7 separate regions of the Homo sapiens genome follow, and all the other regions are linked to region 2. The links are contacts of gene promoters, found by promoter capture Hi-C in blood cells and fetal thymus (Javierre and others, 2016). All regions are on one chromosome and are shown on one strand. Each heading gives the region's core, a stretch centred on a gene start or on the middle of the fragment in contact. The rest is flanking DNA. Distances are from core to core; before and after follow the strand shown.

What was found. Contacts are between HindIII fragments. The CHiCAGO score rates a contact against its expected background, and 5 or more counts as called.
Region 1: a contact is called between a fragment that was not itself captured here and the fragment with the promoter of MAP4K3 in region 2, in 2 of 17 cell types (naive B cells and total B cells). The highest score is 6.5, in naive B cells.
Region 3: a contact is called between a fragment that was not itself captured here and the fragment with the promoter of MAP4K3 in region 2, in 1 of 17 cell types (naive B cells). The highest score is 5.5, in naive B cells.
Region 4: a contact is called between a fragment that was not itself captured here and the fragment with the promoter of MAP4K3 in region 2, in 1 of 17 cell types (naive CD4 T cells). The highest score is 5.3, in naive CD4 T cells.
Region 5: a fragment that was not itself captured here is called in contact with the fragment with the promoter of MAP4K3 in region 2 in 1 of 17 cell types (naive B cells); the score reaches 5.0 in naive B cells.
Region 6: a contact is called between a fragment that was not itself captured here and the fragment with the promoter of MAP4K3 in region 2, in 1 of 17 cell types (total B cells). The highest score is 5.0, in total B cells.
Region 7: a contact is called between a fragment that was not itself captured here and the fragment with the promoter of MAP4K3 in region 2, in 2 of 17 cell types (naive B cells and total B cells). The highest score is 10.5, in naive B cells.

The regions. Positions count from the first base shown.
Region 1 is chr2:39,597,783-39,600,615 of GRCh38, reverse strand. MAP4K3-DT (MAP4K3 divergent transcript) reads right to left here. Exons shown (of 6, transcript NR_037875.1): 6 at 1-1,250. Among named protein-coding and RNA genes, the nearest start is that of TMEM178A, 67 kb to the left of the region's middle. The HindIII fragment of the contact is 2,251 bases long and covers 406-2,656 here.
Region 2 is chr2:39,435,951-39,438,851 of GRCh38, reverse strand. It overlaps MAP4K3 (mitogen-activated protein kinase kinase kinase kinase 3), which reads left to right and starts at 1,567. Exons shown (of 34, transcript NM_003618.4): 1 at 1,567-1,960. The coding sequence starts at 1,865. It overlaps MAP4K3-DT (MAP4K3 divergent transcript), which reads right to left and starts at 1,436. Exons shown (of 6, transcript NR_037875.1): 1 at 1,317-1,436. RefSeq lists silencers at 1,314-1,533, 1,604-1,963 and an enhancer at 2,294-2,373. The HindIII fragment of the contact is 5,405 bases long and covers 591-2,901 here.
Region 3 is chr2:39,676,321-39,679,020 of GRCh38, reverse strand. All of the region lies in intron 1 of TMEM178A (transmembrane protein 178A), which reads right to left. Among named protein-coding and RNA genes, the nearest start is that of TMEM178A, 12 kb to the right of the region's middle. The HindIII fragment of the contact is 2,157 bases long and covers 256-2,412 here.
Region 4 is chr2:39,217,042-39,219,741 of GRCh38, reverse strand. The region is part of intron 3 of CDKL4 (cyclin dependent kinase like 4); the gene reads left to right. Among named protein-coding and RNA genes, the nearest start is that of CDKL4, 26 kb to the left of the region's middle. The HindIII fragment of the contact is 1,661 bases long and covers 601-2,261 here.
Region 5 is chr2:39,640,690-39,643,576 of GRCh38, reverse strand. No RefSeq gene overlaps it. Among named protein-coding and RNA genes, the nearest start is that of TMEM178A, 24 kb to the left of the region's middle. The HindIII fragment of the contact is 5,699 bases long and covers 1-2,887 here.
Region 6 is chr2:39,617,501-39,620,372 of GRCh38, reverse strand. No RefSeq gene overlaps it. Among named protein-coding and RNA genes, the nearest start is that of TMEM178A, 47 kb to the left of the region's middle. The HindIII fragment of the contact is 6,580 bases long and covers 1-2,872 here.
Region 7 is chr2:39,659,433-39,662,194 of GRCh38, reverse strand. No RefSeq gene overlaps it. Among named protein-coding and RNA genes, the nearest start is that of TMEM178A, 5.1 kb to the left of the region's middle. The HindIII fragment of the contact is 6,363 bases long and covers 1-2,762 here.

The DNA.
Region 1 (2,833 bases), core at 282-2,781, 160 kb before region 2:
AGATATTGCCAAATCAAGCTCAAAAATGGCTGTATCAATTTGTATTCCCACCAACAATATATGAAAAGGCTTCTTTCCCAAACTGTGGAGTTAAAAAAAAAAAGTGTAGGACCCCATTCCAAGCCTACTGAGAACTGGGTGGGACCTGGACACAATGTATTTTCCAAAAGCACTATAAATGATCCCAATGCACAGCCAGGTAAGAACCATTGTTCTAGATATTTGATTCTCAAAGTGTGGTCCCCAGATGGGCAGTGTCAGCCCTGGGAGTCTGTTAGAAATGCATCATCTCAGAAGCTATATTTTAACAGGAGCCCCAGGAGATTCAAATGCACATTGAAGTTTGAGAAACACTGCTCTAGAAAGGATACAGCAACAGGCCTAGATTTTGTGGGGCCTAAAGCTTACATAATCTGGGGAGTCCTTTTTACTGAAAAATATACAAAATTACAAACAAAGATGGAGTACAAATTTAATATTTACTTACAATGAAGTAATAAATCCTGATTAAATACAAAATTTTAAAAGCCGAAAAGTACCATAAACATCACAAAATTCTGGAGGAAAAAAGGAAAAAACGCATTTATTCATGAGCTGCCTAATGCACGTCTATATTTTTGTAAATTTTTAGCTATTTCTTTGCATGATAAAAAAAATTTCTATGATCTTTCTATAGAGAGATGAGAATTAATTCAGTCAGCTAGAAATTTGTGTTTTATTCTTGGTAATCTAGAAGAGCTTTTTTTTTTCAACTTTCAACTCATTATAATATCATGTAAAATTTTTTAGAATTTGGTCCAGTTAGGATAAGTTCCATCCAATGTCTTTCATGGGAGCTGTAAGAGTCATGGCATTTCATGGTTCTCATCCAGTGGCTAATTTTAAATGCCCTTGGAATCAAGGACAGTCAGACATCCTTGTGCAGAGCATTACTTTCATGTTTCTTCTCCTCTTCTGTTCTGTGCCCCAGAGTGTCCCAATTCACATAAATTTCTTTACCTCTTCTGTTATTGTTTTACCTACATTTTCTTTGCTCTTGTGATTCTGAGTTTTTGTTTGTTTTTTATTTGTTTTTTGTCTTTATGAGTGTGACCATCAGAGTTTTTATCTTCTCTTATGAAAAAAGAGAGTTCTCAACATTTTGAAGTCTCTGCTAGTTCCTAAAAGTTCCTTCTTTTCGTTAGATCTTCAGTTTCCAGTAGGTTCCAGCCTTCCCTTCACATTTGAGTTTTACAGTATGATCAACCACTCTGAAAATAAAAACAAAATTCATCTGAAATTAAGGCATAAACAAGAACAAGTAAAACACATTTTAGGCCGGGCACAGTGGCTCTCGCCTATAATCCCAGCACTTTGGGAGGCTGAGGCAGGTGGATCATGAGGTCAGGAGTTCAAGACCAGCCTGGCCAATATGGTGAAACCCCATCTCTGTGAAAACTACAAAGATTAGCCAGGCATGGTGGCAGGCACCTGTAATCCCAGCTACACAGGAGGCTGAGGCAGAAGAATCACTTGAACCCAGGCGGCAAAGATTACAGTAAGCCGAGATCGCACCACTGCACTCCAGCCTGGGTGACAGAGTGAGACTATGTCTCAAAGAAAAAAAAAAGAAAAGAAAAGAAAAGAAAAAAGACACATTTTAAAATTGTAAATATAATATATTGTATTTGAATATAACATAATACAAATATATTGAGCTACATAATAGTAGGATCAAATTACCCTTATACTACATCTATTGCTGCCATACTGATGAACATAGGAGTTCTGTCGCTAGAACCCTTGTTTCTTCGGGACTTTCTGTTTCATTGTGTCAAAATTGCATGCCATTTCATCTAAAATTCCCAGAATTTGTCAAGAGAAGATGCATCAAATATACTAAGACATTTTGAGATACATAAAACCTGAAACAGCACACACAGACTGACTGTTCATCATATTATTAAAGATTTTTGTCCTTACAAACACAAGAATTCTGGTGGATTCTATTCTGAGCAATTACCATAAACAATTAAGAGTGTGTTTATAATTGTGTATGTTGCATTACTGCATATATTCCTTACGGAAGAATATTTCCATTTTGTTTAGTCATCATTGTGAACTGAATGTCTGATGATTGGAAGAATTTTCCACAGATTTGCTTCTGGCTCTATCCATTTCAAATCTTGTTTCTCTTCCACTCCCCACATGCTCCTAGTGCCAGGTATTGTAGGACAAGTACCTACTCCCATAATACCCTGCACCTTCATGCCACAGTGCTGGGGAAGCCTGCACAGTGGGCAGTAGAAATATTCCTGGAAGCCATACCTATACTAGGATGGCTAGCAACAGTGTAACTGTATACAGAGTAGCTATAAACTACAAAATATATACCCACCAACCCCAAACCAACACATCCCCAACTCAGTTTGCCTTCCAAAATAGACATAGCCCCAACTTCATTCCAAAAATGTCTGCTGTCACTTTCAGGCCTACCTGCACCTGAAGATTTGTGATGAGGAGGAGGGAGTGGAAAGAGACAGCTGTCTTAACCAATTTCAGTAAAAAATATCTTACTTTTGAAACTTTGCAAAAATATATGACCATGTAAAAGACATTGATGGGGCCTCTCTCGGGGCTTTTGGAAGGAGTTGAGCAAGTAAAGAGCCCTGAAGCTTCAGCTTCATTAAAGTCACAGTAAATCTGTCTCTGCAGACGAGCATGTGGAATCAAAGTGATGGAGCAGAGAAACACCTTCAGAGATCATATAGTACAACACTCGATATAAAGATGGGGAAACCTGAGGCCCTCAGAGGTTATGGGACTTCCTCGGGATCACATAGCTGGTTAGTAA
Region 2 (2,901 bases), core at 318-2,817:
CCTTTGGCTATGGAATAACATTTATAGTCAGGAGTTTCTCAAGATACCAGAGCCTGAAGGTAGATCCATCGAGAAGATATTCAATGATATGCACTCCTAAGGCAATAATTTAAGTGATACTTTCATATTACTGATGCTTTAAAATTTAATAATTAAAAATTACACAACTGAAAGGCTACTTATATAGGTGAAGAGATAACCATTTTCAAACATCAATTTAGTCAACAGATACTCAAAGTAAACAATTTGAGAATTTAGTACATATGCAATTTTCCTATGAGCAAAAGGATTCAAAAGATTTTTTGAAAAAGTATGAAGCAGTTAACTCTAAGTAGTTTGCTCTACTATTAATTTATTATACTTATCCTTAACAGGTTTGATGAGACCTAGTTTCTCAGGAGCCACGAGGTATTAGGGAATATTAGTGGTTAGAAGGTGTGGTGCCTAAGGGGATTAGGAAAGCATTTCTGAAGCAAAACTCCAACGTGGTATTGCCAAAGTGGCCATCACCTAATTGATTAAAGCTCCTGCAAATGTCTATTGGGAAGTTCAATGAGAACAGAAAAATAACCTTCCATTACCCTCAAGCTTTCTTGGGCAAGTATTAACAATCGGAGCTGGAGTCCACATAGCTCAGATGTAAGACGCGCAATCTGGGTCTTAAGCAGGGTGGGGTTTTTGGGTAGGTAAGGTCACAGCTAAAGAGCTTCCGGATCGTCACGTGTTTATATTTCAGGTGCGGTAATAGATCTAGTCCACTCTCCACCCCTTCTTTACAGGGTTGCTTGACAGCCTGCGCAGTCCCCGCCCGTCTTTGATAATCCAACCCTCTTCGAAGAGGGAGGTCAATCACTGCTTTAGTTCTGCGCTCTGCCTGCCTCCCACGCGGGATGGTGGGCAGCTGTTCCGCGTGTTTTCCTCCCGGAGCTTTCACGCTCTGCCCACTGCACACACCTCCCTCGCGGCCCTCCTGGCCTGCCCTCCTTTGCACCCTGGCAGGCCAACTCCAAGGGTCCGAGTGTCGGTGACAGGGGCAAGCAAGCACAGCTCACTTTTCCTGGGGGTTTTCCTCACGGTGTGTTTAGTGACCCCTCCCCGCAATCCCAGAAAGGCTGCAGCACTCCATGGTATCCTACATGTAGCTGCTTCTAAAATAATAAAGGCTGGGACATTGGCTGTCTTGGATATTACCACTATGCTACCTGCTTGGAACTGGGACCAGATAGACCAAGGTCCAACTTTGTCGTTAGGGGAATCAGAAACGAAAAGAAGCCACTTTCTGCTAGTCCTAACCCCGGTCCCTGGGCCAGGCAAACCTTTTCAAGCGTCCGGCGGCAGCGGCCGGGCGCGGGTCCGCAGAAAAGCCGAGGCGTTTCGGGTCCCAAGCTGTTCCGCCGCCGGCCCCGGCCTGGCAGGCGCGCGGAGCCGGAACGCGCAAGGGGTCGGGTGCGCGCCAGGCCTGGCGCGCTCCCTCCGGGATCGCGGCTGCGCAGTCGGGCGGGAGTCGGGAAAAGGGGAGGAGGTTGGAGGAGCCGGAGTAAGGGGAGGGGGAGGAGCGGCGAAAGCGGAAGCCATGTTGGAGTTTCACCCCGAGCGAGGGGCTGCGAGGGTTCTCCTCTCCTTGTGGGTGTGACCAGGTTCGGCGCGGCGGCGGGCCGCGGGGGGCGGGGACGATTGGCCGCTTGTCGTCGTCCGCAGCGGCGTGAGGGGAGCGGCGGCGGCGGCGGCGGCCGCAGCGTGGAGCCGGGTGATTGTGACCGCCGGGGGAGCCGGGAGCCGGCCGCGGCGCCCTCTCTCCGTGTGGCCCCCTGAGCGGCCCCCCTCCCCTGCCCGGGAGGGAGGCGGGGGGCACCTGGGGCCCGCCATGAACCCCGGCTTCGATTTGTCCCGCCGGAACCCGCAGGAGGACTTCGAGCTGATTCAGCGCATCGGCAGCGGCACCTACGGCGACGTCTACAAGGTAAAGGCAGGGGCCGCGCGCCGCCGAGGCCGTGGGATCCCGACCCGCAGCCAAGCCTGGGCGTCCGAGCCCTTGCCGCCTGTCCTCGGGAGACGCTGGCGCCAGGGAGCAGTCGGGGAGGAGGAGCTGCGGACGCCAAGGGCTCTGCTGCCTTGGTGAACAAAGGGCCGAATGTTTAACCCCGAGACCTCCCCAGCCCTTACCTGAGCCCCCCCGGTGGACATGATTTTTGCCACCTCCCTTCTTGCGCGCATTTCCAGGGAAGGGCAGAACGAGAGCAGGCCACACTGCTCATCCATAGTGCAGAGAAGGTCTGGGCGTTTGTTGCGTTGGCAGGGTCAGCGCGACGAACCGGACAGCAGGGGTCTGGTGTTGTCAAACCTGCCTGCTTCACGCCAACCTGGGGTCGTCCGCTCTAGGTTGGGAGCTGCTGCCCACCAGGCCTCGGTGGTAGTTATTATACTATGCTGAGCGACCTCCATCTTCCATCGACAGCTCTCAGCCTTTAGCGCCTTATTCATCCCCCTGTCAGTTTCTTTTAATTTTCCAGAGTAATGACTTTTTTTTTTTTTTGGAAAGAGCAACTTTGTTTTCTCTAAGTCGAATTGGACTGCGATGCCATTTAAACTTGTTTTTTAAAAAGTGACTTGAATACTTAGGGAAGGTACTGGTTTGACAAGGTTAGAATTCAAAGTCCAGTAGCGGTACAGCATTCCTGTTGTAGAGGGACCACTTCTAAATGTGGGAAGATAAATCACTCTTCCCTGGCCAACTCAACTCTTGGCCTCACAGTTACTGCCAAGAAGAGAGGAGGTTGTTGCCAAATGTGGCAGCAGTCTTGATTTAGTTGTGTATCTTCTTACTGGTAACTGAAGTTGAACTCCTCCAGTTTCACATAACACCTGAGGATGCACAAAGAAACTTAATTTTGCATTGGAAAG
Region 3 (2,700 bases), core at 85-2,584, 240 kb before region 2:
GAGGACAGAGGCAAGGAAAGCTAGAGAGGAAATAAGAATAGCACTAAGCTTTCAAGGAAAAGTAGATGCTGTCCAGATGGACAAGAGAGGATGGTATTCAGGCAGAGGAAGCAGTATTCACAATGACACAGAGATACGAAAGTGCATGTGTATTGAAGGACTAGAAAATGGTCTTATGTGACTTGATCCTAGATTTCATGCAGAAGTAGCTGGGTATATAACCAGAAAGGCAGCTGGAGCCACAAGGTAAAAGCTTTTTTATGACCTGCTAAATTCAGACTTGTAGCTGTAGGCAGTGGGAAATTATCAGAGATTTGGGGTTTTTTTGTTTACATCTTAACTAAAGTGTACGATTTAGTGACATTTAGTACATTGTGCAATCACTCCCAATATCTATTTCCAGAACATTTTCACAAACCTAAAAGAAAATCACTTACCCATTAAGCAGTCACTCCCTATTATCCCCTCCCTGTTTTCTGTCTCTGTGGGTTTGCCTAATCTGTATATTTCATAAATAAAATCATACAACTTATGGCCTTTGGTGTCTGACTTCTTTCACCGAGCATAGTGTTTTTAAGGTCCATCCATGTTGTAACGTGTGTCAGTATTTCATTCCTTTTTATGGCTGAATAATGTTCCATTGTATGGACATACCACATTTTCTTATCTATTCATCAGTTGATGGACATTTGGATTGTTTCCATATTTTGGCTATTGCAAATAGTGCTGTTGTGAACATTTATGTACAGTGTTTTTGTCTGAGTATCTGTTTTCAACTTTTGGGGGTATATACCTACTAGTGGAATTGCTGGGATATTTGGTTCTTCTATGTTTAACTTATTAAGGAATCTATCCGATATTTTTACTTAAAGGAAAGACATAACATTGTATTTTAGAAAGCTAAATGTACCTAATGGATATTTAAGGAAACAAGATCTATGGAGATGGTTCCCTGAAGATCCACCAAATAGTTGCTCATCTGTTCCTTCCTGCCTTCCTTCTTGGGCTTCCTATCTCCTTTCCTTTCTCTCCTGCCTGCTTGCTTGCTTTTTTTTTTTCTTGTCGAACCTACAAGTTGGCATGCAATATGGTGGTCCAAATATATGCCCACCCACATACCTTGTGGCTTTACACCATCTTCTGAGGCTTCTGTGCTAAAATCCTGCTAGCTCAGCCCATCTGTAACAGTTCAGATTGTTTTCTTGCTTCATAATTCCTGCTCTGAGGAAGTATCAAGCTGTAATAAATAGGTCTCTCGGTGTCGAACGAGAGGTCCAAGAGGAGCCTAGCACAGGAAACCTGAGGTTTGCTGGAAAGGTTTTGACTTGAACATTCCTGCTGAGATGACCAGGGTCCATCCCACTCCTCCAAACACAGAAACATATACTGCTGAACAACTGCTTCCTCCCCAGGTCTTCCAGCTTGTCATTTCAAAAGCAGATGATACTTCACAGAAATTTCAAAGATAATGAAAGCCCAATACAGACATGAGTTAAGTGGCTTTTCTTCAAATTAGAATTGTTTAATTTCTAATTTTGAACACGCGCCACTATCAACACACCAGGACACTGGCAATAGCAAGGAGTGATTTGCTAATTTTCTTGTTCAAAGTTATTATATTTATAGATGCACTGGGAAGTTGTAATCATGGTCACTCAGTTGCCAGTCAAAGGATAGAAATGAAATATGTTGTTGTTGTTTTCCTCCAAGAAATCAAGAAGTTAAAAAAAGTCATAGCCTGGCTTGAACAGATTCTATAAATGAACCTGGTTTGAGGAGTGGGGGTGAAGGGAGATATTCAGAAAAATGCTCTCCATGAAGCTCTTCTTGGGAGGCACTGAACATCCAGGGGTGGGGGAATGGGGACGAGAGTGAGGACAAAGGCTGTACATAGGAAGCACTGAAGCACCAAGCTCTCCAATCCAATGTGTATTAAATTCATAGCAACTGCACCTTCTGATCTTAAAGTACATTAATATTCCCTAGAATGCACAATTTTGAACATTTACCTTCAATTTTAAAAGTGCAATTATAAATAAGCCTCCTTAGAACCAACCATGCCATCTCTGAATCTCTAGAGATTAAAGAGACTCAAACAGCTCTTCAAACAGAAAAGCACAGGGCTTTCAGGGCACTTCCATGTGTCTATTAGGGCAGTATGTGGAGAAAGTGGTAGATCTGGAAAAGCTGGAAGAAAATCTGAGTTCTCTTCTCAGTCTTCTCCTACTATGGAATGACCATAGGCAGGATGGGACTGCCGCCTGAACACACCTGCTGCTTCAGGCTCTATCTTGTGTGGCTCTCTGGAACCCCTCTTCCGTGGCTGACCAAAGCCAGATTTTGTTCAGGTGTCAGCCAGCCAAGTGCTTCCTGGGGAGCCTGGGCCCTTTCTCCAGCCCCAGGGCTGAAGCTTGATTGGTCTAAGAAAATCATGGTCCATTCCACTTGCCCGGGATTGCTTTAAGAATGGTCACGTGACATAATTCTAGCCAATGAGACCGGTGGGAAGTCTGCAGGACGCCTTCTGGGAAATTACATTTATTGTAAAAGAAGACATCGGAAAATGGGGACTGGCTTCTTCCGTTTCCTAGCTCACTCACAGAATTCACAACTAGCAACTCACAGAACTGTCATGACCAGGTAGAGACATGGCTCAAGACAAAACTGCCTACCTTGGGTCTGCTAAAGCCCAAAACCATT
Region 4 (2,700 bases), core at 182-2,681, 220 kb after region 2:
ATTATTTAAATTCCCTTTTCAGGCCAAGAACAGTGGCTCCTACCTGTAATCCCAGCACTCTGGGAGGCCGAGGCAGGCAGATTGCTTGAGGTCAGGAGTTCAAGACCACTCTGGGCAACAGGGTGAAATCCCGTTTCTACTAAAATACAAAAAATTAGCCAGGTGTGGTGGCAGGCACCTGTAGTCCCACCTACTCAGGAGGCTAAGGCAGGAGAATTGCTTGAACCCAGAATGCAGAGGTTGCAGTGAGCCAAGATCATGCCATTGCACTCCAGCCTGAGTGACAGAGCGAGACTCTGTCTCAAAAAAATAAATAAATAAATAAATAAATAAATAAGTACCTGTTTCATTACTGAGTGGCCATCTGCCAGCATCCCAGCCATTAATGGTAATTAGATGCTGCCCTTCCGTCCTCATTACATCAGATATCCAATCCTAGATTCTCACAGCCTTGGATTGTTTCCCACATCCACTTCTTTTACCATGTCCTGAATTGGTCAGGATTCAACAACAGAATTCACTCTAGCTAGTTCAGAGAGAAAGAGATTTGTCACAGGGTTTTAGTTTATAAAATTTCTGGGAGTGCCAGAGAAACAAGCTTAATTGAGCTCCTATTAGGTACCAGGTCCTGTTCTAGGTGCTGGGGCTATAATAACGGACAAGAGAAAGTCCTTGCCCTTGTGCAATTTACATTCTGATGTAGTCCAACAATAAAGAAGAGTTATGAGTCTTTGAAGAAAAATAAAGCACAGTGTGGAGTTAGAGAATGCCCAGGAGGTGTATTAGTCAAGGTTCTTCAGAGAAACAAAACCAGTGGGATACATAGAGGTACTGATAACAGGAAATTTATTATTGGTATTGACTCATGTGATTATGGAGGGAGAGAAGTTCCACAATCTGCCATCTGCAAGCTAGAGAACCAGGAAAGCCGATGGTCTAATTCAGGCCAAGTCCTAAGGCCCCAGAGGACAGAGAGTTTCAAAGTCCAAAGGCCTGAGAGCCAGGAGCTTCCACATCCAAGGGCAGGAGAAGATGGACGTCCCAGCTCAAGGAGAGAGAAGCAGCCCTTCCCCTACCGTTTTGTTGTATCCAGGCCTTCAACGGGTTTGATGATGCCTGCCTGCCTGCCCTCACCTTTGTGGGTGGGTCTTCTTTACGCGGTCTACTGATTCAAATGTGAATCCCTTCCAGAAACACCCTCACAGACACACCCACAAATGATGTTTTGGGTTTTTTTTGTTTTTTGAGAGAAGGTCTCATTCACTTGTCTCACTCTCTGCAGTGGCCTGAACATGGCTCACTGCAGCCTCAAACTCCCAAACTCAAGCAAATCCTGCCTCAGTCTCCTGAGCAGCTGGGACCACAGACACTCACCATTATGTCTGGCTAATTTTTAAACTTTGAGTAGAGGTAGGGTCTTGCCATGTGGCCCAGGCTGGTCTCAAACTCCTGTGCTCAAGCAATCCTCCTGCCTCAGCCTCCCAAAGTGCTGGGATTACAGGCATGAGCCACTGCACCTGGCAGAAATAATGTTTTAGCAGCTATCTGGTCATCCCTTAACCTAGTCAAGTTAACACAGAAAATTACTCATAACTAAAAGGAAGTAGAAGGAACAATAAACTGTTAATAGAAGTAGAAATAGAAGTAAACATAGAAATAGAAGTAAAATGTTATTAACAGCCTGATTGAAAGTATAAATAAGCCTTGGGGGCCAGGCGCAGTGGCTCACGCCTGTAATCCCAACACTTTGGGAGGCCGAGGCAGGCAGATCACCTGAGGTCAGGAGTTCAAGACCAGCCTGACCAACATGAAGAAACCCCATCTTTACTAAAAATACAAAGTTAGCTGAGTGTGATGGCACATGCCTGTAATCCCAGCTACTTGGGAGGCTGAGGCAGGAGAATCGCTTGAACCCAGGAGGCGGAGGTTGCGGCGAGCGGAGATTATGCCATTGCACTCCAGCCTGGGCAACAAGAGCGAAACTCTATCTCAAAAAATAAATAAATAAATAAATAAATAAATAAATAAATAAATAAATAATAAAATAAGCCTGGCATGTTCAGAGAATAGCAGAAAATAATGGGCTGGGATGGAGTGACTTTAGGGATGTGATAGGAGATAAAGTTGGGAAGGGAAATGGAAGTAAAATGTTATTAACAGCCTTGTAGGCCATAGTAACAAGGCTGGATTTTATTCTAGGATAGTAAAGATTTACTGAGAAGGACTGAATTCATCTTGGGTAATAATAATGAAATCAAGCTTCCCCTATTACGTTTTTATAACAAACTTCCAGGTAATGACTTCTGATTTCAGCATCAGGTCTTCCTCTGAGTGGTTCAAAGAGCATATTCTGAGCAGTTCAGTCTGAATTCCCCCATCATGTTACCCTATCTTGTTAGCCCATTCAGACTTGAACTGTGATGTCTCATGTTTGCTTTAAGGCCTTCATTACGACTTTTAGTATTACTTTCAGTGGCAAGAACCTCGGTTACTTTTGTACCAACCGAATATTTGGTTTTGCACTGGCCCAAAATATAATATTTAAACACTGAGCATCTTTTGATTTCACCAGAGGTTCATTTTGCTCCAAGATGCTTTGAAAAATGCTGCCTGTGGCTGAATGGTGCTGCAGCGCTCTATCTTTCTGGACTGGGCGCCGCGTCGATGTGTACTCTCTTTGATGGTTATCTTCTCTTTGCA
Region 5 (2,887 bases), core at 88-2,587, 200 kb before region 2:
CATTACATTTATTGTGCACTTTATTTCTATCATTATTTCATACTCACCATAACGTAGAATCAGTGGGAGTCCTGAGCTTGTTTTCCTGCAACTAGACGGTACCATCTGGAGGTGATGGGAGACAGTGACAGATCATTAGGCATTATTAGATTCTCATAAGGAGCGTGCAACCTAGATCCCTTGCGTGTGCAGTTCACAATAGGGTTCACGCTCCTATGAGAATCTAATGCCTGCCGCTGATCTGAGCTCAGGCGGTAATGCTGGCCTGCCGCAGGTCACTTCCTACTCTATGGACAGTTCCTAACAGGCCACGGACCAGTACTGGTCCATGGCCTGGGGGTTGGGGACCCCTGTCATAATTTATGACCCCCTCCGATTTATGTTGTTTCCAATTTGTCTTTATTTATTTATTTATTTATTTATTTGAGGCAGGGTCTCACTTTGTCACCCAGGCTGGAGTGCAGTGGCTTGATCATGGCTCACTGCAGCCTCAACCACCTGGGCTCAGGTGATCCTCCCACCTCAGCCTCCCCAGTAGCTGGAACCACAGGTGTGCACCACCATGTCTGGCTAATTTCTGTATTTTTTGTGGAGATGGGGTTTTGCCATGTTGCCCAGGCTGGTCTAAAACTGGGCTCAACTGACCCACCTGCCTCAGCCTCCCAAAGTGCTGGAATTACAGACGTGAGCCACCGCACCCAGCCAATTTGTCATTCTTCTATACCATGCTGTAATTAACTTCTTTGTATGTGTGTATTTGTGGACACTTGAGTATTTCTGTGGAACTGATTTTAGAAGTCAAAGAGTAAACACCTGCGAGAGAGCTCAGAGAACCCAGACTTTGGTGTTTTCACTTTAAGTAACTGTTCTGATTTTCATCATTCTTTTGTCACCAACTATGCCTCTATGCAGACAATCGCACACAAATCCAAGACAGATACAGTATAGATCGTGCAGTTAGGAATGGCACTAGAATAGAACCCATTGTGTGGGTTGGGGAGGGGTTATCTGGCATGCTCTGCAGGGTGACTCAGCCCTCACATCCATTGCCTCTAACCCTGCCAAAATCTGCATTCCTGCTGACAAGCCGCATCTGTGTGTACAATGAAACTTTTGACCCCACCAGCCTAGGGTTGCTTTAAATATACCAGCGAGGTCATGTCACAGTTAGTGTGCATTCATAAATGACTTTGTAATGAATAAAAACAAGAGAAGCTCAAACTTCCACTCTGCAAATATGTCAGACTCAGTCTCCATTTGGAACCAGGGAACATCAATCTCTCACCAGCCAGGCAAGGTTCTGCCCAGCGGGCTGCTCACCACTCTAGCATCTCTCAGCTCCCACAGTCCCAGCCCATGCATCTGAATTCCACCTCCTGGGAAAATGCTGGAACAAATCCCAACTTTCAGAGTTGTCTTTAGCTTCGAGAAAATATTTTCAGGGATCTAGTTGTATTTACTGAACATTCATGGACCAATTCCTAATGTGTCTAATTTTTTAGACCAACTATAATTCACCTGTTACATTTGGGCTTTTGGCTGTGCTATAATTTTCCTAAATTGAAATATTTCTTATGCTCAAAGATCTCCCTGGTGTTCAAAAGCAAAATTGGTTTCCTATAAAAACTTGTCGTCACTGTCATTAATTAACAGAAAGCAGAATGCCTCTGTGTGTTTACCTTCACAAAGTGTATCCATGCAATGCATTTCTTTCCCAGAGGCATAGTTTATTCCTATATACCAGAAATTAAGAGTGCATTAAAAAAATGCATGTCTTTCACCAGCAGGGAAGTTTTGAGAAGGAGACTACTGTATTTCATGAAAGGACACCAGACACAGGGGTGTGAAAATTAAATAGAGCCTCTCTCTATGAGAAAGTAAATTATGTTATATTGTTCACTTTATCTGAGACTACTTTTCTGTGGTTTGATCCAATTTGCCAAAGAATATATGGGCTGATCATTCAACCAGTTATTAGCTATTCATTGGCCAGCTTTGTGGTTGTTTGACTTGGTAGTAATTCAAGGTAGAACATGTGTATGTTTGTGTGTGTGTGTGTGTGTGTGTGTGTGTGAGATTTTATCACTAGTTGTAAATTCAAGGATTCATAGAAAGAGTTTAAAGTTAGAATTCTTTTAAAATGTGATATAAATATATATATGTGTGTGTGCGTATATATATATATATTCCATTGTGTGTGTATACATACATAAAGGAATATTATTCAACCATAAAAAGAAGTAAATTTGCAACAACATGAATGGACCTGGGAAACATTATGCTAAGTGAAATAAGCCAGATGCAGAAAGACAAATACTGCAAGCGCCCACCTGCATGTGGAATCTAAAATAAAACTCACAGAACCAGAGAGTAAAATGGTGATTGCCAAGGGCACAGGGTGAGGGAAGGAGGAGGAAATAGGGAGATGTTTGTCAAAGGGTATAAAGTTTCAGTTAGGTAAGATGAATGGGTCCTGGGGATCTAATGTACATCATGATGTCTGTGTTTAATACTGTAGTGTACACTTTAAATTTGCTAAAATGGTAGATCTTAAGTGTTCTTACCACAAATAAAAAGAAAAAGAGAATGGCAACTATGTGAGGTGATAGACATGCTAGCAGTTTCATTGTGGTAATCGTTTCACAACGTATGCATATATCAAAACATCAAGTTGCACATCTTGAATATGTACAATTCTGACTTGTCAATTACAGCTCAATAAAGCTGAAAAAAAGAATTCTTTTAAAGACTGGTGCTGGAAAGTGAGACTAAAACAAATGTTCTCTGTGTGGTTTATGTTTCAGTCAACATGATTTGAGTCATGAAATATCTAAACTCATGAGCCATTTTGTAATATTAGTTACAGTTCTATATGCATTAGATGATT
Region 6 (2,872 bases), core at 211-2,710, 180 kb before region 2:
TAAAAGGAAGAGAAGGAAGGTATTAGCAGCAGAGACCGCTGACATTGCTGCACACTATTTATGAGATTTTTGCCAAAATCCTGCTGCAATGTCTGATAACCACAGCCACCGGCATGACAAATGAAATCTGGCAGTCTGCCATAGGCAGGCGGTGAACTTAAGGGAAGTTGCAAAGAAGGGGTGAGAGAGAAAATTTACTAGATTTTGAGCAGGGAAAAAGTTTTTGCTCAGACAAGACAAACCATGTAAACACAAACTAGACAATAACACAAAGCAGTGTATTATGGGAAGATATACTTTTGATACAGGCTATGAGGAATATAGGAAATCAAGTATTGGTGCTAAATACCATGTATGTATTTTCTCATAAATTTTTTTAAAAGATAATCCTAGTCTGGAAAGTATTTTTAACTACATTTCAATTGCACAAACAAAAAAGAGTGAAGTTTAATTGAGTAGTAGAGAAAGTGCTGGACTGAAAGTCCAGAGATTTAAGATAATATCTTCAAACAAATACTTTAACATTGCTAAACTTTAATTTCCTTACTGGTAAAGAGGGCATCATAATAATATTAAGCTCCGAGGATTTGGGGGAACATTAAATGCCATGATGTTTGTGAAAAAGTCTTACAAATTGCTGGTACTATTCAATCTTCATCATCATTACCATTATTCCTGCTTAGTTCCTACTCAGCAGTGTGACTTTGCCAGCTATAAAATAGTAGTAGAGATTAAGAGATTAGACTAGATTATCCTTAAACTTTCACATTCTCTGCTTATATAAGTTATTATTTCTCTTCAAACTTAACATAAATATATGTTGCAATAGATAAACAATTAAAATGTGTAAGAAGCTGGGTGCGGTGGCTCACGCCTGTAATCCCAGCACTTTGGGAGGCCAAGGCGGGTGGATCATGAGGTCAGGAGTTTGAGACCAGCCTGGCCAGCAGGTGAAACCCCGTCTCTACTAAAAATACAAAAAACAATTAGCTGGGCCTGGTGGCGCATGCCTGTAATCCCAGCTACTGGGAAGGCTGAGGCAAGAGAATTGCTTAAACCCAGGAAGCAGAGGTTGCAGTGAGCCAAGATCACGCCACTGCATTCTAGCCTGGGTGACAGAGCGAGAGTCCGTCTCAAAAAAAAAAAAAAAAAAAAATATGTGTAAGAACACAGCATCCCTATGGCCGGTAAGTGGAGAGAAAGAGAAGTTAAACTAACAAAGAGAAAGACAAAGCTGCCCATGTAATCCCATACATTGTGCATGGCACACGGATCTGTCAGTCATAAGAAAACACTTTGAAATTTGAAAGCAGTGGGGTAAAATTTTGAAAAGAATCATCAGTATGCAGACTGAGCCCAATCACACTCCCATTGAAAGGACAGAGACCAATGATAGAATAACACACCAATGCCACTTCCTCATCTATTTGGTAAACTGCTGATTCTACAAAGTGTGATACAGATGTCTGTCACCTCCTCTGTGAAGCCTTCCCCAAATTGCTCTCAGAGAACTATGTGTATCATAAGCTCACCAAGTTATTGAATGTTTCACACGTCTGTCTACCCTCTAGATTGCTAGATCCTTAAGAATTAGAATAGCATCTTACTCAACTTTATAGCCTAGTAAGCATAGGGTCTGGCACATAAAAGGTGCTCAATAATGCTGGATTGTGAGTTGATTAATTAAGTGAATGTTGAAAACACAAATTACATGATACTTTGGCTGGCTGGCTCTTAAGTCAACAGAAGACTTCTAACTTTAAATAGCATTTCACAGTCCCTCTAAAATTTCTCTTAAAACATCTATGAATATGAAGGGGGAAAAAATAAAAACATACCATTCTGAAAGCTCAGACATTTTCGCAAACCACCATACTAATGGAACTGTGCTAGGAGTGCAGTTTGTAACCCCTTGTGTTATTCTGCCTGAACAGAAAGACAGCCCATCTGAAAAAAGGTACAAAGACCATTCATTTCTCTAAACAATCTGGCTCCCTGGAATAAGAATGCCAGATCTGTTTCAACCCAGAAGAGGGATAGTTGACCTTTACTGGCTAGCTACTGCTTTTGGAAGCTATCAGAATATTATTTTTCATACCTTCTTCAATGGATGAAGATCCAACTTATGAATTATAGGTAAAAGAAACCAAAGCAAATGGAATGGAAACCGTAATCAAAGACATAATGTTTTAAAAATCATGAATTGAAAAATGTCTCAAGTATGCAGATTCAAAGAGCTTACAATATTTCAGATTTTGTGTGTGTGTGTATGTGTGTAAAATACCTGCAGCTAAGTGCATTCTTGGAAGAGATTTAATATGAGTATAAAAAAACTCTTTAAGCATCCAGACAGGAATAGTACATTGCATATAAAGAAGGGAAAGTCAGGCTGCTCTCAGAATTTTCCTTTCTATTATTATATGTCAGAAGGAAATTAAGCAAAATGTACAGAATTTTGAGGGCAAACGTTGTCGTTCAAGATTTCACACCTAGCTCTTATGATTCTTTTAGTTGCAAATACAAGGAAAATCAGTTCAAACTGGCATTAGGGGAAATAAATGAATATATTGGCTCACAAATCTTCCAATGTAAGTTTAGGTACAGCTGGATCCAGGGGCTCAAATAATGTCATTCTCCTGCTCTCTCTTCCTCCCCACCAATCTTGCTTCATCCTGTCTCTGCCTTTCTTTCTATATTTGTCTCATTCTCTCCCACTTAAAGTACATTGACCCTTGAACAACACAAGGGTTAGAGACACTGACTCCTGTGCAGTTGAAAATCCACATATAACTTTTGACTCCCCTAAAACTTAACTACCAATAGCCTACAATAACAAAAGTAATCAATTAACATACATTCTGTATGTTATATA
Region 7 (2,762 bases), core at 142-2,641, 220 kb before region 2:
TTTTGGCTTCCAACTGTCCTTTCTGGGTTAGAGAGAACTATCCACTCTAGCATTCCAAACCCCTTCTTTGTTGCTCCCAGTATTCCCATGGCATTTACACATCACAACTGATGTGCAGGTCATGTTTAAATATTTAGAAAACAAAATACTTTTGCCTTCTCCAAACGCACTTACCATAATATCTATGACATTCATCATATTTCTCTCTATAGTCAGGAAATTCTTTAAATAAATATTTCCTAAGAAAAAAGGTCCATGGACACACACACACACACACAGAGTGAGAGAGAGAGAGATCTCAAACACAGAGCTATGGTAATGCTTTGTTGACATACCTGTGCTAAGCTAACCATCCTAACCATGCATATTCTAAAAGATTTTCACCCTGTTGCACCAGTGCTAAGATTAAAAGCAACATCTTTCCTCATTTCAAACGTTTAGATTCTGCAGTTTAAACTATGAATTTTAACCAAAACTACACACTAGGTTTCATAAAGAGTGTGAAAGTTTCCTCTTGGTAGTATCAGATTTTTTTCAGCATTCAATATAAGCATACAGTCAATTATATTGTTAACCTACAAATATATACAATATATACAAAACGTGCATTTTGCACATTTTTGAAGTATCTTATGTTAAAGTCATCACTCTAACTTTTTCTCCTAAAACAATTTTATTTTAATTCAACAGCATATATTGAGCACCTTCAATGTAAGTTATTGTGCAAAGTCCCACTGGATTTTGTAAAGATGAAGAAAACACGGCCTGTGCCCTGAGGGAGCTTTAAGGTAGTTGGTAAGGAAGATAGAAATGCATGAAGCCACAAAGAAGAACTGCCTGAAACTAGTACTGTCACCAAGGTACAAAACAATGCAACAGGAAAACCTACTACAGAGAGATTCCTTTCTCCATTGGGAAGAATATGGGTAAGCCAAGATGCTGTCTCAGTTAGGCCTTGGAGGAAAAGGAGTATTTTCTGTATGTGTGTCAACTCAGTCCAGGGCAAAGCCAAAAGTAAATTTTAGAAGCAGCACCTACCATAGTGCTCTGCTATACCCCACGCATGTGGTAAGTCATCTTGGCAGTGCCATTTTGTCACTGACTAGAAGCCTGGAACCATAAAATACCACAAAACCCCCAAAATAGACAGTGCCTGATAAGTTTCTCATTTCACTGACACACCGCAGAATGTCACCATTCTTTTTCACATTCCTGGATTAAGCTGTTTCCTTTTTGGAGCCTTTAAGCACATATGGTGGGAAAGGAAAAAAAAAAAAAGTTCAAAGAAACCCATAACCATGTTAAGTCCCACTTAAAGTGTGATGTTTCAGCAGATGGTGGCTCATTAATTGCCACACCTAACTGTACTCACCACCTTTTCTTTGTGTATGGATACTGGGTTTTGAAGTTGGGGTCTAATTCAGTTCATTTGGGCCATGTTTGACAAATAAGGCAGAATTGGATATAACTAAGATATCCGGTGTCTCTGATTCACAGCCACCTGTGATACTGCCCAGATGAACAAAAAAACCAGTATTTCCAGCTGTCTTTCCTCTTTTCTACCTTCAAACTTCTCTCTCTGCTGTGTCTGCTCAAAGGCACCAGGATCTGGGGAATGCACATGGGTACTGGGGTCAAACCACGTGTAAATTCTACCCACTTCTTTCTACCTATTCACCCTTAGCCAGCGACCTAATTTCCCAAACCACCTGAGTTCTGAAAAATAGGGATATCACCATCTATCTCACAGGATGCATGATTCATGGTTATCACATGCTGAATACATTCCTCCCACTCTCTTATCCTCCCTACTCCATCCATGTAAACACATAAACATGCTTCAGAAATTCCATAGGTCTATCATATTAAGACCATATAATTTAAATGTTATAAATACAAATGGCTAAAACGTTAATGACACATTATTTTTCTCATTAGTTATTTATAGTATTCAAATAAGAGAAACAATCTATACTCATTTATTCCATTAACATTATTGAGCACCCATGGGCCAGAGAAAGAGCATTCCAGGCAGAGTAAACAGCCAGTGCAAGGGTCCTGAGGCATGAAAGAGCTTTGAGGAACTGCAAAGAGACCTAGAGAGTAGTGAATGAGGAAGGGGTAGTATGAGATGAAATTGCAGATATATGCAATGCTAGATTATGCAGGCCTTGAAGGCCAAACTATGGAGTTTGGACTTCAGTCCAAAGAAAAACTTTGAAGAGTTTTAAGCAGGGGAGAGGCATTGATTATTGTTTTGCAATGTCACTCAGACAGCTGTGTGAAAAATGGATTGAAGCTGGGGGTAGCAAGTGTGAAGGCAGGGAAGCCAGTCAGGAAGCTATTGCAATCATGCAGACAAGAAATATTAGTAACTTGGACTAAGGAGGCAGCAGTGGAAACAGAGAGAAATGGGTAAAGGTCAAAATCATAGAAATACATGGATGGCGCTGGAGGCCATTATCCTTAGCAAACTAACACAGTAACAGAAAACCAAATACTGCATGTTCTCACTTATAAGTGGGAGCCAAATGGTGAGAACTCGTGGACCCAAAGAAAGGAACAACAGACACTGGGGCTTACTTGAGTGGGGAGGATGGAAGGAGGGAGAGGAGCAGAAAAAGTAACTGTTGGGTATTAGGCTTAGTACCTGGGTGATGAAATAATCCGTACAATAAACCCCGTGAAATGAGTTTACCTATATGACAAACCTGCACATGTACCCCCAAACCTAAAATAAAAGTTAAAAATAAAAATGAATT